Linked DNA regions of Homo sapiens: all the other regions are linked to region 1. Evidence: promoter capture Hi-C in 16 types of primary human blood cells and fetal thymus (Javierre and others, 2016). All regions are on one chromosome and are shown on one strand. The core of a region is centred on a gene start or on the middle of the fragment in contact, and the rest is flanking DNA. Distances in the headings are between cores, read along the strand shown. Region 1 holds the start of SHOC1 (shortage in chiasmata 1). Region 2 overlaps SUSD1 (sushi domain containing 1). Region 3 overlaps SUSD1 (sushi domain containing 1). Region 4 overlaps SUSD1 (sushi domain containing 1).

Region 1 (3,004 bases), core at 499-2,998:
GATCTTTCAAGCAAATATTGATTCTAGAACTTCCATTTCTTGGTGTTGCACTTTCAGAAAAAACTGATTGTCTCATTCTAAAAGCCATTGCAAAAAGTTAACAACAAACTCAACTTTACTGACTTTACCCATTCAGCTTATTGTCAGCATTTATATTAACTTTTCTTTTCTTGTGAAGCCTAGTATTTCTATCACTCTCACCAATTACCTTAAGAAATAATTACTTTTGTATTGAAGTCAACCACTGAAATTCATGCTAAATATGTACTACTTAATAAGATGCCATATGTTATATACATGCTTAGAATCCCGTTTATCAAGTTTATTTCATTGTAATACAGATATCGAATCCATCTAATAGTGGTGGGTGGAAGCAAAAACGATACATTGCTCTTATTTCTAAAACCAAAGATATGAGGAAATGAACAAAATCATGGTTAGAGAGAGGGTAATTTAAAATTATCAAGTTTTGAATTGCAGCAATTCTCGAATTTTTTTTTTTTTTACCTTTTTCTAAAGATTTTATTTCTTTTGTGCTACTTCCTAACAAACATCTACTGGACTACTGGACCAAAATGGAAATGCACACGATAATGAGGTCAGGCACAAGGCCAGGAAGTAAGCTTTCCCAAGATGATGATGATGATGATGATGATTTAATTAATTAATCAAATAATTTTTTGAGACAGAGTCTCCCTCTGTCCCCAGGCTGGAGTGCAATGGTGCGATCTTGGCTCACTGCAACCTCCAGCTCCCGGGTTCAAGCGATTCTCCTGCCTCAGCCTCCCGAGTAGCTGGGATTACAGGCGGGTGCCACCATGCCCGGCTAATTTTTGTATTTTTAATAGAGACGGGGTTTCGCCATGTTGGCCAGGCTGATTTCGAACTCCTGAGCTCAGGCAATCCTCTCGCCTCAGCCTCCCGAAGTGCTGGGATTACAGGCCTGAGCCACCATATGCCAGGCCCCAAGATTATTTAAAAGCACTCACAGGTGAGTGTGAATCTTCGGGCTGGCTTCCCACCTCTCCCCACCAGCCTAAGGCATCAGGAGCTTTCTGCCTTCTTCACTCCCTCGCATAAAAACCCACTTAAAAAAAAAAAAATAATAAGATCCGCCGGAAGTGGTGGCTCACACCTGTAATCCCAGCACTTCGGGAGGCCGAGGCGGGTGGATCACTTGAGGTCAGGAGTTCGAGACCAGCCGGGTCAACATGGCAAAACCCCGTCTCTATTAAAAATATAAAAATTAGCCAGACGTGGTGGAGGACGCCTGTAGTCCCAACTACTCTGGAGGCTGAGGCAGGAGAATCTCTTGAACTCGGGAGGCAGAGGTTGCAGTGAACCGAGATCGTGCCACTGCACGCCAGCCTGGGCAACAGAGCGAGACCCTGTCTTAAAACAGACAAAAAAACGTAACATGGCAGAGAAGGCGAGGTGCACCTATTTTCCCTTATTGTTTAGCCCATACAACTTCTAGTTGATGGGCTGAAATCCCACCAGCATCTCTGAGACCTTCACACCTTCTATTCTCAGGTTAAGTGGACAGTGGGTCTGGGGTTTTGTCTCTACAGAGCCACATCGGCCGGGCCTCACAGATGCGTTTTCCAGAGATTCCTGAGCTGCCATACTTCTTTGGTCCCATACGACCTTTTCCTCCCCTCAGCCCTCAAAATCACCCTCTCTCCTGCCTCCAGCCTCTCAGGGCTCTTACCTGAGGTAAAAATCGCCTCCTGCATCTCTTCCTGGGGTAAAATTCCCGCCCGCTGGACACGTGACCACTGAGCCTGCACTCTGTGCTTCCATTGGCCAGACCAGGCCCCGCCCCTTGGGCTCCGGGCACTTCCGTCCGCGAGTGGGCACAGCCTAGGGAGGTAAGGATTGTGGGGATTCGAGGCTGCAGCCTGGGCAGCGCCGAGGTCCTCGGGAGTGAGCAGAACCCTCATAACACTGGGCGGAGTGTGACGGTGGAGAAGTCGGCGTGAGGCTAGAAAGAGCTGGTTGTGAAGGGTTGGGAAGACCCGGCAAAGCAGTCCGGACTTCTTTGGGAGTGGCGGCTCCCATGTTGTTAGCGAGGCCGGGCAAAACGCGGCAGGGTTAGCCGGAGGGCGAGGGCAGAAGCCTTTCAGAGGTAAGGGTGGGAGGATTTAGCAATCAGACAGATTCAGGGAAAGAGGAAGGCAAGAGAGAGGAGGCAAACGTGCCTCAGGGGTCTGGCTAGGTGTGGGTCATGGCTTGGTAGCAGAAGAACTTTTGAGGAGGGGCAGGAAGATACTGCTTTTCAATTGGCACATGTGGATTCTATACCTTAATTAAAGCCACTCCCTTACATACACACATTTAGGTATCGCCAGACTCGCCTGATGAGGAATAATTATTCTTTCCTCCATATTTCTTAACTCCTGTCTTTTCCATGAAACGGCTTGGCATTAAACTCCTTCCCAGAAGATTGCAAGAAGTAACATGCATTTATTTACTTTACTAACACATGGGTGTCTTTTGAGTTGATTGTTCAAATACTAATTGTGAAATGTCAGTGGATAAGTCACTTTATTTTCTTAAGTTACTTCCTTTATTTTGTACAGGTGTGTGCAGTTTGCTTCGGTTATATGGATTTAATGTTTGACAATAATCAGTTTTAAAGATATTCACCTAACATTGAAGTGCATTAATCATCCTGTGTTCTTGGATGTCTACCTTTTATTAAAATCAATTTTAAATTAAATATCTTTGTAAAAGTTACAAAAATTGGCCGGGCCTGGTGGCTCACGCTGTAATCCCAGCATTTTGGGAGGCTGAGGTGGGTGGATCACCTGAGGTCAGGAGTTCGAGACCAGCCTGGTCAACATGGTGAAACCTCATCTCTACTAAAAATACAAAAAAAAAAAAAAAAAAAAAAATCAGCCGGGTGTGGTGGCATGCCCCTGTAATCCCAGCTACTTGGGAGGCTGAGGCAGGAGAATCGCTTGAACCCGGAGGCGGAGGTTGTAGTGAGCCGAGATCATGC
Region 2 (3,476 bases), core at 511-3,010, 300 kb after region 1:
GAACAGTAAATATGTAATCTAATTGGTAGGAGACTGCCATTCCTTGAGTCACATTTCCAAGTAATAAGTTCATATATTACAGGTTGCCACCCAAACAAAAGGCAGACTTGCTCTCTGGGACCCGCCTGTGCACAGGTACAAGGAGCACTCTGGGTATCTCCGGTCTCCAAGAGGTAAGCACCCAGTGTCTGTCACCGCCCTTTCCTCTGCTTTTCGGCCTGAGACTGGGTGGGTAAGCCAGGCAAGGGTCCCTTACAGACCCAACTGCCCATATTTCCAGGGGGAATTCCAGCAAGTAGGAAGTTCCACTTGGCCACAATAGCTAAACCTCATCCTTCAATATAGCTTTTACCTGAAATTCAGTTTTGGAGAGAGTTCCTGGAAACTTGCCCAGATCAATAAAGTTGATCCTCTATTTGTCATTTATCTATCTGTTTGTCCTGTTAATCTCAGATGGAAAGGAGAGGTAAGATTCAGTATCTCCCTGCAAAAGACAGATATACTGACTGGGGCCTTGAGTATAAAGATAAGAGCTGCCACAGCGGAGCAAGGCACCATGATGGAAGATGAGAGCTCCTGGTCTCTGCAGCTGGAATTCAGGAACAGATGAGGTAGGTAGATATCTGATTACCAGGAAAACTTTGCAAATCAGACAAAGCTCTAAGACATAGGCTTTTTAGGCAGGAGCAGATGGAATTATTTTAGCTACCACTTTTTTTTTATTTCAGTCTTTCTTTTCTTATTATGTCTCCGCCTGCAAGAGCTTTGACATTGCCCGGAAGTAGCTAAGGTTTATGTGGTTAGAGCAATGCGACTCAAAATGTGGACTGACAATATCAATAAGGCCTGAAAGCTTGCTAGAAATGAAAATTTGCTCCCCTCCCCAAAGGCCTACTGAATCAGAACCTCTGGGATGGGGCCCAGGAACCAGTGTTTTCATAAGCTCTCCAGGTAATCATTACACTTGCTAAAGTTTAAGATGCACAAAGGGAGCAATGGTGGGAGGTTTTAAAGAGCATTTTGGGGAGCTAGATATTAGTAGACAACATTAGATTAGCTTGCCAAAATTCCATTTCTCTTTATATTGTTTGGAATTTCATCCAGGGCTAAGGAGAGAACTGTAGAAAGACTGGATCCACGGTTTCTCCACAGGCTGAGTTCACCCCCACACCAAGGGCTTTTAAATGGCCCTGGATGATCTGTTTCACAGAAACTCAGACCGGGGATTCTAGATAAGAAACTCTTTGGGGGCTAAAGTAGAAAAAAAGTCCAGTGGAATTATTACAAACTCAAATGCTAAAAAGAAATAGCAAAAAGTGTACACCTAGAACTCTGTTCCTAGAAATGAGATTTTCCCCATCTCTGAAAATAGAATGAAGTCAGTTTACAAAACAGGTTTTGGTCTTGCAGACAGGATAAGATTAGGGAGAAACGATAAGATTAGGAGGAATGAAACAAAGTGAAGGAAATAACACTAAGAAGAAAATTTGAAATCATATTGGCCCAGTTAGAAAAATATGACAAGGAAAAGTTTTAAATAGGGGAGCGAGAATAGGCATTAATGAGAACTCTTCGTTTCTTCCTTAATAACTGGAACTGTGATACTCTATAGTTAAAGAAATGTGAACATGTTTAAAAAGAGAATCATCAGTGAATGATCAGTGTAGAATTCTTCAAGCATCACTAAGTGAGTTTCAAGGTGGCATTGTTTTTGTAAGATGGGGCAACAGGTATTGCACCGGCTATAAGGACATCTGCCTGGGAAATAGAGCTGTATTAAACAAGGTCCAGGGAGAATGAAAATTGATAAAGCCCAGGCCTGGGTTTAGGCCGAACTGAATAGAAAGAAATGCCTCCTAGTGAAAATGAAAGTGGGAAGAAGGTATTTTAACACTGGATGTTTATGGCAGGTCGAGAGCTCTGTGACATCATTCTTTCTCTACAGAGACCTCGGAGGCAGATTCCAAAGTAATATGTGAGGAGAACAAAAATCTAAGTCTGAAAACAAAAAGCAAATATAGAGAAGGAAAAGTACTAAGACCTAGCAAAAGGTATGAGTCCTACCTGGCAATAAAGACGGAACAGAAACAACTTAAATGGAAGGGTAAAGGCTTAGAGCTGAGCAGGACCTGCTAAGTAAGAACGTTCTCAGAGGGACCTTGAACATTGCAGGCTTATCTCTCTGATACAGAAAAGGAAGCGGGAGCAAGAAGTGTTTCAGTTTCCATCAAAGAAGCACCGACCATTTAAGTCTTGGAAATTCAATTCCAAGAAGGTAGGGCTTGGGCGAAATGCCACTAGCCCAGGGGGTTTCCTGGACCTCATCAGACCAGTGAAAGTTCAGGTTCTGGAAACCCAACAGCAGCTCACAGATCAGCTGAGGGTAATTCCCCATGGGAGACAAAAGGGAAAATCTCCTAACCAGGAAGTAGGACTCACAGGCAGACATTCAATAATAGGAGCCTGTGGAGTCCAGAACTAAAACAATTTGGGGGATCTTTCTGGGTTTAGAGAAATTCAGAGAAAAGAGTCAGAAATGGAGACAGGGAAGGAAGCATGCAAGATGATGCATTTCACTTGAAGAGTTTCCTAAGATAAATGTGGGGTGTCCTGCCCAGAAAGAAGGGAGACTCTTTCACTAAACAGATAAAGATCTTCAGCAATGGTGAAGCTTGGGTAGAAATAGGGCTCAAGGGAGCAACGAAAATGGAAAGGTTTTAATCTTTGGAACGGGCATCAAGAAAGACCTAGAGCCACCACTGCAAATGTCTAAAATTTTCAAGGAGAGTACAGTGTCAAAATGAATCCAACTACCCTGACGAGAAGACATTTCCCAATTTAAGTTTAAATTGACACGTGGTAGACTCCAGACTGCTTGGTAACCTACAGAGGCTGAACTATGGCATGCTACATTATACTTACTACTAGTAATTTAGGGAGGCAAAGGAGAAGGTAACAACAGGCTTCTTTCTGAACCTGACACCATGGGCCTCTCATTTATTATACTCATGCTAGAGTTTAGACCTCATCTCTCACCACTGTCCCCAGCTCTCTGCTCCAGCCATACTGGTTTCCATGACATTCCTAGAATATGCCAAGTATGTGCCTGCCTCAAAACCTCAGCATTTGCCAGTCTCCTATACACCAAAGGAGTAGCATCTATTACAAAACAAGATTCCTAGGTTTCAACAGCTAGAACACACTCTCCACTCAGCAGGACACTCTGGCCAAGACTCAGCAGAAAAGATGTAGGATAGAAAAAACTGGGGACTTCATGCCTTTACATTTTAGTTTATTTTACAAGGAGAGGTGGATTTATTTATTCTTATTTCTTTATCTGAGGAGATCTTGCTCTATTGCCCAGGCTGAAGTGCAGTGGCGCAATCTCGGCTCCCTGCAGCCTCAACCTCCTAGACTCAAGAGATTCTCCCACCTCAGCCTCCCAAGTAGCTGGGACCACAGGCTTATGCCACCAC
Region 3 (3,498 bases), core at 702-3,201, 270 kb after region 1:
AGTGAATGTACTAAGTCCGGAAAAAAGGCTGCAGACAGTCATGCGGTGACCTGAAACAGAACTCATGTGATTTACATCCCCTACAGTTCATGGGCTGATACCAAAGTTCATGTGAAATAAATGAGACGCCAAGAGTGCAGAGTCACCATGAGTTAATCTAGTCTGACAACACCCTGAAACAGCCAGAACAGTAATATGTCATGTATGCACTGTAAAAACTGTTCCCCAATTGTGGACAGAAAAACACACTAACAAATGGGTATTGTTTTTGTTATGTGTTTCATTATTTGTCCCATCAAATAGAAAGCCTGGCAGTGAAAGGACGTGTGAGAATAAAAATGCACTGAGAATGAATCACACTTCCCTTCTATTCCCATCTATCTGGTACTTAGCTCCTGCCTCTAGTACCATGTTGAGCATCTGCTGTCTCTGTCAGGCTTGATAGCAGGGATCTGAACGACTGACTTGTATTCTTGCAAATCCTTGCACAGTTCTTTGGAAATGATAGCTCCCCAACCCCCGCCCTGCCCCGCCCCTCCGCCACCAGCAATGAATGATTCTTGAGTTGAAATTTCGGAAAAGAGGAAAAGCATACATCAGCGTGAAATATAATTAGGGTAATTTCCAAAACTCATTAGGCCATGTAATTCTATTTTACCAGTAAATTTGAACTTCCTGCTTCACATGTCAAACGCCCTATCTCCTGCTTCCTAAGAGCCCATGAATCACTAGGTTAAGAAGAGGGAGCCCTCCTCCACAGTGGGTGTTGGATATGGAAAGTCTCCCCCCACCAGGTTCCCAAACATCCTAGGTATCCTCAGGGCCCTGATTTTCTTTCTTTTCTTTTCTTTTTTAAGAAGGGAGTCTTGCTCTGCTGCCCAGGCTGGAGTGCAGTGGTGTGATCTCAGCTCACTGCAACCTTTACCTCCCAGGTTCAAGCGATTCTTCTGCTTCAGCCTCCTGAGTAGCCAAGACTACAGGCACTCGCCACTATGCCCGGTTAATTTTTTTTGTATTTTTAGTAGAGATGGTGTTCCACCATGTTGGCCAGGCTGGTCTTGAACTCCTGACCTCTTTAGCTGGGGGAAGTTGTTGCACGTATCACTGCCCTGTGTGCCCACCTCTGCCTCCCAATGGGCTGGGATTACAGGCGTAAGCCACTGTGCCTGGCCCAGGGTCCTGATTTTCATAAAGTCTTGGCTCACTTTCAGCCAAGGGCTTTCTACAAAAGAGATAAAGTAAAACCCACAGGGCAATAAGTTGTCACCACCAGTAAACATTTATTAAGCATCCACTGCCTATGGGGAACACCTGTAACAACAAACTTGCCGGGAGACTTGAAGACATCCCTACATCATAGCCACAGGTAAGAAAGTAAATGTTGCAGCACCTCCATGCGGTCCATAAGTACATCTTTAAATCCCTCTCATCTTTCCATGCAGGTGGTGGTGGTCAAGAGCAAGGTCGAGGCTCACCTGTGCCCATTTGGTTCCGTACATTGCTCACTAGAGGCATCATCGACAGAGTATGAATCAGCTCCCCAATTAGCCTGACCGTAATCACCTGTGTTGCTTGATTATTATACAAATTCCCCGACCTCATACCGACCTACTGAATCGAAATCTCTAGGAGTAGATTCTGGGAATCTGTATCGCTGGTAAAGCTCCCAGGTGATTCCTATAATCTGGCAATGTGGGAGACACGAGCATTAAGGGAACCCAGCAACAGGCTCCATCCTCTGCCTAACATCAGCAACCTCAGCAGAGACTTGGTCCCAGGGACCTTGCTCCATTATGTACCCCAAGACACTGTCCCTAAATGGTGCACAAAGCAGACTCAGGCCTGTCTCACACACTGGCAAAGCTGCTGCCCCCCAGCTCAAACCAGGTAGTCAGGCTTAGGAAAACCACCCTGCCTGCTGGTAATTAGCCATGTGATGTTAAAGAAGCAGCTGTGGCTGTTTGGAATATGACTGTTCTGGAAGGACTTTTCTCCTCTTTTTCACCACCACACTCCCTCGAATGACTCACAGTTCTCCACTTCCTGTTTTGGAGGCGCTGGCCGGCATATAGCCACAAGGGTAAGCTGTCATTTGGCTTTTCTTTTGCATTATGTCATTATTTGACATAAATATCACATTTGTTCTTGCAAATGCTCTCAGGAAGTGACATCACAACTTCTGTTCTCTTTATAATGACAGAATTACAATGCCTTCTGGTAACTTGTCAAGAATCAGAACAATTTATACAATGTCCATCCCTGGAAAGATCTTTGCACATTTACTGAACTTAAATGAATATAAAAGCAGGAAAACCCTAAGTTTTATTATAAATGGATATACAGATAATATCGCCAGACTTTCTTTTTTGTAATTTTATAATATCTCACTTTTTTTTTTTTAACCTTGATTTTACCGAAGGGTCAGCAGAGACAAAGGCAATGTTGGTGAGGCCATGTACATTTTCATCTCCTTGAGCTGGTACTGTGAGCAAGCTGTTCATCTCTCCACGCCAACCTCAATCTTCCTCTCTAAAAAAGGGACTGATGCTACTTTCCTAATCCTGCCATGACCTTTGCAAATAAAACACTTAACTGAACACACTGTAGTCCTCCAACTGAGGTAAATTAATTCCATCCTAATGCCATCTGGAATCCCAGAAGCAGTCATTAATTATACAGTGTCTTGCCTGTAACTCAATACATGAAAAGACAAAAAGATTTACCTAAATGATCTTTTCAGAAACCACTGCACACCCCCCAAGATCAACCTTACATAAAGGGCAACATATTCTGCCTTTGGGAAATGAAACGATGCCCCTGACCCACCATCCATAAAGGATGTACTATGAGACATGAGTGCAAAGGACAATCCTGACATGTCCTAACATGCAACCGACGTTTACCCAGGGACCAAAGGAATGGATGTAATTTCTTGAGCTAAACTGCCCAAATGCTTGTATATAGGGTCCTTTAGAAGTCTCTCTATGTGGCCGGGTGTGGTGGTTCAAGCCTGTAATCCTAGCACTTTGGGAGGTTGAGGCTGGTGGATCACCTGAGGTCAGGAGTTCAAGACCAGCCTGACCAACATGGCAAAACCTCGTCTCAACTAAAAATACAAAAATTAGCCAGGTGTGGTGGTGCACACCTATAATCCCAGCTACTCAGGAGGCAGTGGAAGGAGAATCACTTGCACCCAGCAGGTGGAGGTTGCAGTGAGCTGAGATCGCAACACTGTACTCCGGCCTGTATGATGGGAGTGACACTCCATCTCAAAAAAATAAAAAATAAAATTTAAATTTTAAAAAAAAGAAGTCTCTCTCACCATTAGAAAGGATGCTGGTTGGGATTAAAGGCCAGTCTGTACCCAAGGAAACAAAAGAGGCCCCAACTGCATTGTTCTAACCACCCAAGTGCAGCCACCAACACAGAAGTCTTCTCCTCACCAAAATCAAAGTTTCCAAAACACTCCATGGGGATCACTGGGCAACCGTGGAGAAA
Region 4 (3,042 bases), core at 95-2,594, 280 kb after region 1:
AACCAATTAGGACTTGTTTTTGGTCTGAACAATTGGGTGAACAGAAATTCCAATAACAGACAGAAAGTAACAGATAGAAACAGAGAAGCCTGGGTGGAAACCGATTTGGGGGCGAGGGCAGAGGTGAGAAATCACAAGTTCCGTTTGATTTGCGTATTAGATGTTCAATAGGACATGTGTAGAAGTTGGGTGGATATAGGAGTCTGGTGCTCAAAGGAGAGGCTGGGACTAGAAATTGATCTTTGGAAATCCTCTGCATATAGGTAATAGTTATAGCCATAAGACTGGTTGAGATCACCTAAGCAGAAAGGGTAGATAATGAAGAAAAGGAGGCTGAAGAGGGGTCATAAAAGTAGATGGAGCTAGCAAAGAAGACTGAGAGGGGACAGCAAGGCAGAAGGAACCAAAACTAAGGGAGAGGGGGTTTCAAGAGGGAGGGAGTGTCAACGCTATCGAAGAAATCAGATAAGAACAAAACTGGCCATTGGATTTGGCAAGACGGAGATCAAACGAAGAGCCTTTCAGTAAAGCAATGAAGACGTATGTTTCCCACGTGGGATGAGTGAAAGTGAGAACAGGAGGTAGGGCTGTGGAGCCTACAGAACAGCCATTTCTTTCAAGGAGTTTTTATAGAAAGGGGCAGAGAGAAGGCAAAGTAGCTGAAGACAAATATGGGCTCAAAGAAGGTCTGCTCATTTTTTCTTTCTTTTCGTTCACAAGGAGGATGTTGCAACATGCTAGGCAATGCTGGGGATAATTCTGTATTGAGGGGAAGTGCTGATCAGGGAAGAAGGGATGGGATCTAAGGCACAAGTTGAGGGGATGGCAGCCTTACACACGAGCAGGGACAGGAAGGGAGGCAGAACAGGATGCAAGGAGGAACGGCAGGGCTGAGCGTGGGAAGTCCTCACCTGACTACTTCTAATTTCTCAGTGAAATAAGAATCAAGAAGCTAATATGCTTAGTATTTGCTCAGAGCATGTGTGAAGTGGGGGTCACAGATGTGAAGAGGGAGGAGAAAATGAGTGGAAAGTGAATTTACTGGGGCCCTATAGCCGGAGGACTACAATCATTGTCCCCTGATAGTAATCTACTTTTTTTTTTTTTTTTTTTTTTTTTTTTTTGAGATGGAGTTTTGCTCTTGTTGCCTAGGCTGGAGTGCGATCTCAGATCAACACAACCTCCACCTCCTGGGTTCAAGCAATTCTCCTGCCTCAGCCTCCCGAGTAGCTGGGATTACAGGCACCTGACACCACACCCAGCTAATTTTTGTATTCTTAGTAGAGGTGGGGTTTCACCACGTCAGCCAGGCTGATCTCGAAATGATCCTCACATGATCAACCCTCCTCAGCTTCCCAAAGTGCTGGGATTACAGGTTTGAGCCACTGTGCCTAGCTAGTAATCTACTCTTAAAGTACTTGCAACAGGATGCCAACTAAATATTCCTGAGAAAGAAAGAGCCACAAGCATTTTTTGTTTAAGTATAAAGTATTTTAAATGCTTTAAATATCCAGAAGCTATACAACCAACACCATGGATGGACACACTACCCACATTTCATCAATGCTGACATTTTGTTTCAGGTATCTTCCCCCTCCCCCTCCCCACAGACCTCCCCTGTGGTTATTAGGTATCTTTTTAAAAATAAAACATAACAGGCTGGGCGCAGTGGCTTACACCTGTAATCCCAGCACTTTGGGAGGCCGAGGCAGGTGGATTGCTTGAGCCCAGGAGTTCGAGACCAGCCTAGGCAACATAGTGAAACCCCGTCTCTACAAAAAATACAGAAATTAGCCAGGCATGGTGGCCTATACAACTATAATCCCAGCTACTCAAGAGGCTGAGGCAGGAGGATCATTTAAGCCCAGGTCAAGGCTGCAGTGAGCCATGATCGTGCCTCTGCACTCCAGCCTGGGCGACAGAGCAAGACCCTGCCTCAAAAAAAGAAAAAAGAATGAAACATAACAGTCACAGAGGCGCCTTAAGGCACCTCTCCAATTCCATGTCCTTCCTCCTCTCCCTGTTAAAGTTCATTATATAATGATAAAAAGCAACAGTGTTCCTCTTTATCAGGACCTATGAACAATTCTGTGGTAACTTTGTTAATCCAAATGCTGTTATTCAAGATTTACCTGTTATCTGGGTTGTCAGGGAGATGACCACAGGAAGTTCCGAAGACAGAGCCCGGAGACTGACATTGTAGTTGGTACCCGGACGTAGGTCCAAGCACACCTCGGGATCTCGGCTGCTGCTACTGATATTAAAGGTCATTTCCTGGGCAAATTCCTTCTGATACCATCTCTGGCCCCAAATGTGGAACTGAAACATAAAAAAGCTCACTGGGTGAATGGTTGGCCTAAAAGGCTTTAGATGCCTTGAAACCTCCCCTTTTCCTTTTTCTTTCTCTTTTTTTTTTTTTTTTTTTGAGATGGGGGCCTCACTCTGTCACCCATGCTGGAGTGCAGTGGCATGACCTCGGCTCACTGCAGCCTCAACCTCCCAGGCTCAAGTGATCCTCCCTCCTCAGCCTCCCAAGTAACTGGGACCACAGATGCATGCCACCACATCCAGCTAATTTTTGTATTTTTTGTAGAGACAGGGTTTCGCCATGTTGCCCAGGCTGGTCTCAAACTCCTGAGCTCTAGTGATCTGCCACCTCGAATCCCAAAGTGCTGAGATCACAGGCGTGAGCCACCGCGCCCAGCCCCTTCCCGTTTTCATGAGCTTTCTTCCTCTCTCTCTCTCTCTGGACTCTAATGTTTCTTCAAAAGGTGAAATGCAGCAGTAAGCAAATATTAGAGTTGCAATACTATAAATATTGTACTTAAAATATTATTTGTATAATAAATATATTTTTAAATAAAAACACACAAAAGGCTAAGGTCCCAATACTGGCAGCTTTCTCCTTATTCTCACACATACAGTGCACATACACAACAAGAAAGTCTATTGGCAAAACTGCAGGAGCAAGGACAAGAACATTTTCCTAGAAAGAATATTAGGAATCCAAACTAAGCAGGACCTGAATTAGAATACTCGTAG

What was found. The method cuts DNA at HindIII sites, captures the fragments that hold promoters and counts their contacts. A CHiCAGO score of 5 or more calls a contact.
Region 2: a fragment that was not itself captured here is called in contact with the fragment with the promoter of SHOC1 in region 1 in 1 of 17 cell types (activated CD4 T cells); the score reaches 7.4 in activated CD4 T cells.
Region 3: a fragment that was not itself captured here is called in contact with the fragment with the promoter of SHOC1 in region 1 in 1 of 17 cell types (activated CD4 T cells); the score reaches 5.0 in activated CD4 T cells.
Region 4: a contact is called between a fragment that was not itself captured here and the fragment with the promoter of SHOC1 in region 1, in 10 of 17 cell types (activated CD4 T cells, endothelial precursors, total CD8 T cells and 7 more). The highest score is 11.7, in activated CD4 T cells.

What each region holds. Positions count from the first base shown.
Region 1 is chr9:111,793,189-111,796,192 of GRCh38, forward strand. It overlaps SHOC1 (shortage in chiasmata 1), which reads right to left and starts at 1,749. Exons shown (of 28, transcript NM_001378211.1): 1 at 1,712-1,749. The HindIII fragment of the contact is 10,914 bases long and covers 622-3,004 here.
Region 2 is chr9:112,093,221-112,096,696 of GRCh38, forward strand. All of the region lies in intron 10 of SUSD1 (sushi domain containing 1), which reads right to left. Among named protein-coding and RNA genes, the nearest start is that of LINC02977, 55 kb to the left of the region's middle. RefSeq lists an enhancer at 2,294-2,463. The HindIII fragment of the contact is 1,818 bases long and covers 852-2,669 here.
Region 3 is chr9:112,059,425-112,062,922 of GRCh38, forward strand. All of the region lies in intron 13 of SUSD1 (sushi domain containing 1), which reads right to left. Among named protein-coding and RNA genes, the nearest start is that of LINC02977, 21 kb to the left of the region's middle. The HindIII fragment of the contact is 6,397 bases long and covers 1-3,498 here.
Region 4 is chr9:112,076,406-112,079,447 of GRCh38, forward strand. It overlaps SUSD1 (sushi domain containing 1), which reads right to left. Exons shown (of 17, transcript NM_022486.5): 12 at 2,133-2,319. Among named protein-coding and RNA genes, the nearest start is that of LINC02977, 38 kb to the left of the region's middle. RefSeq lists an enhancer at 686-785. The HindIII fragment of the contact is 5,993 bases long and covers 1-3,042 here.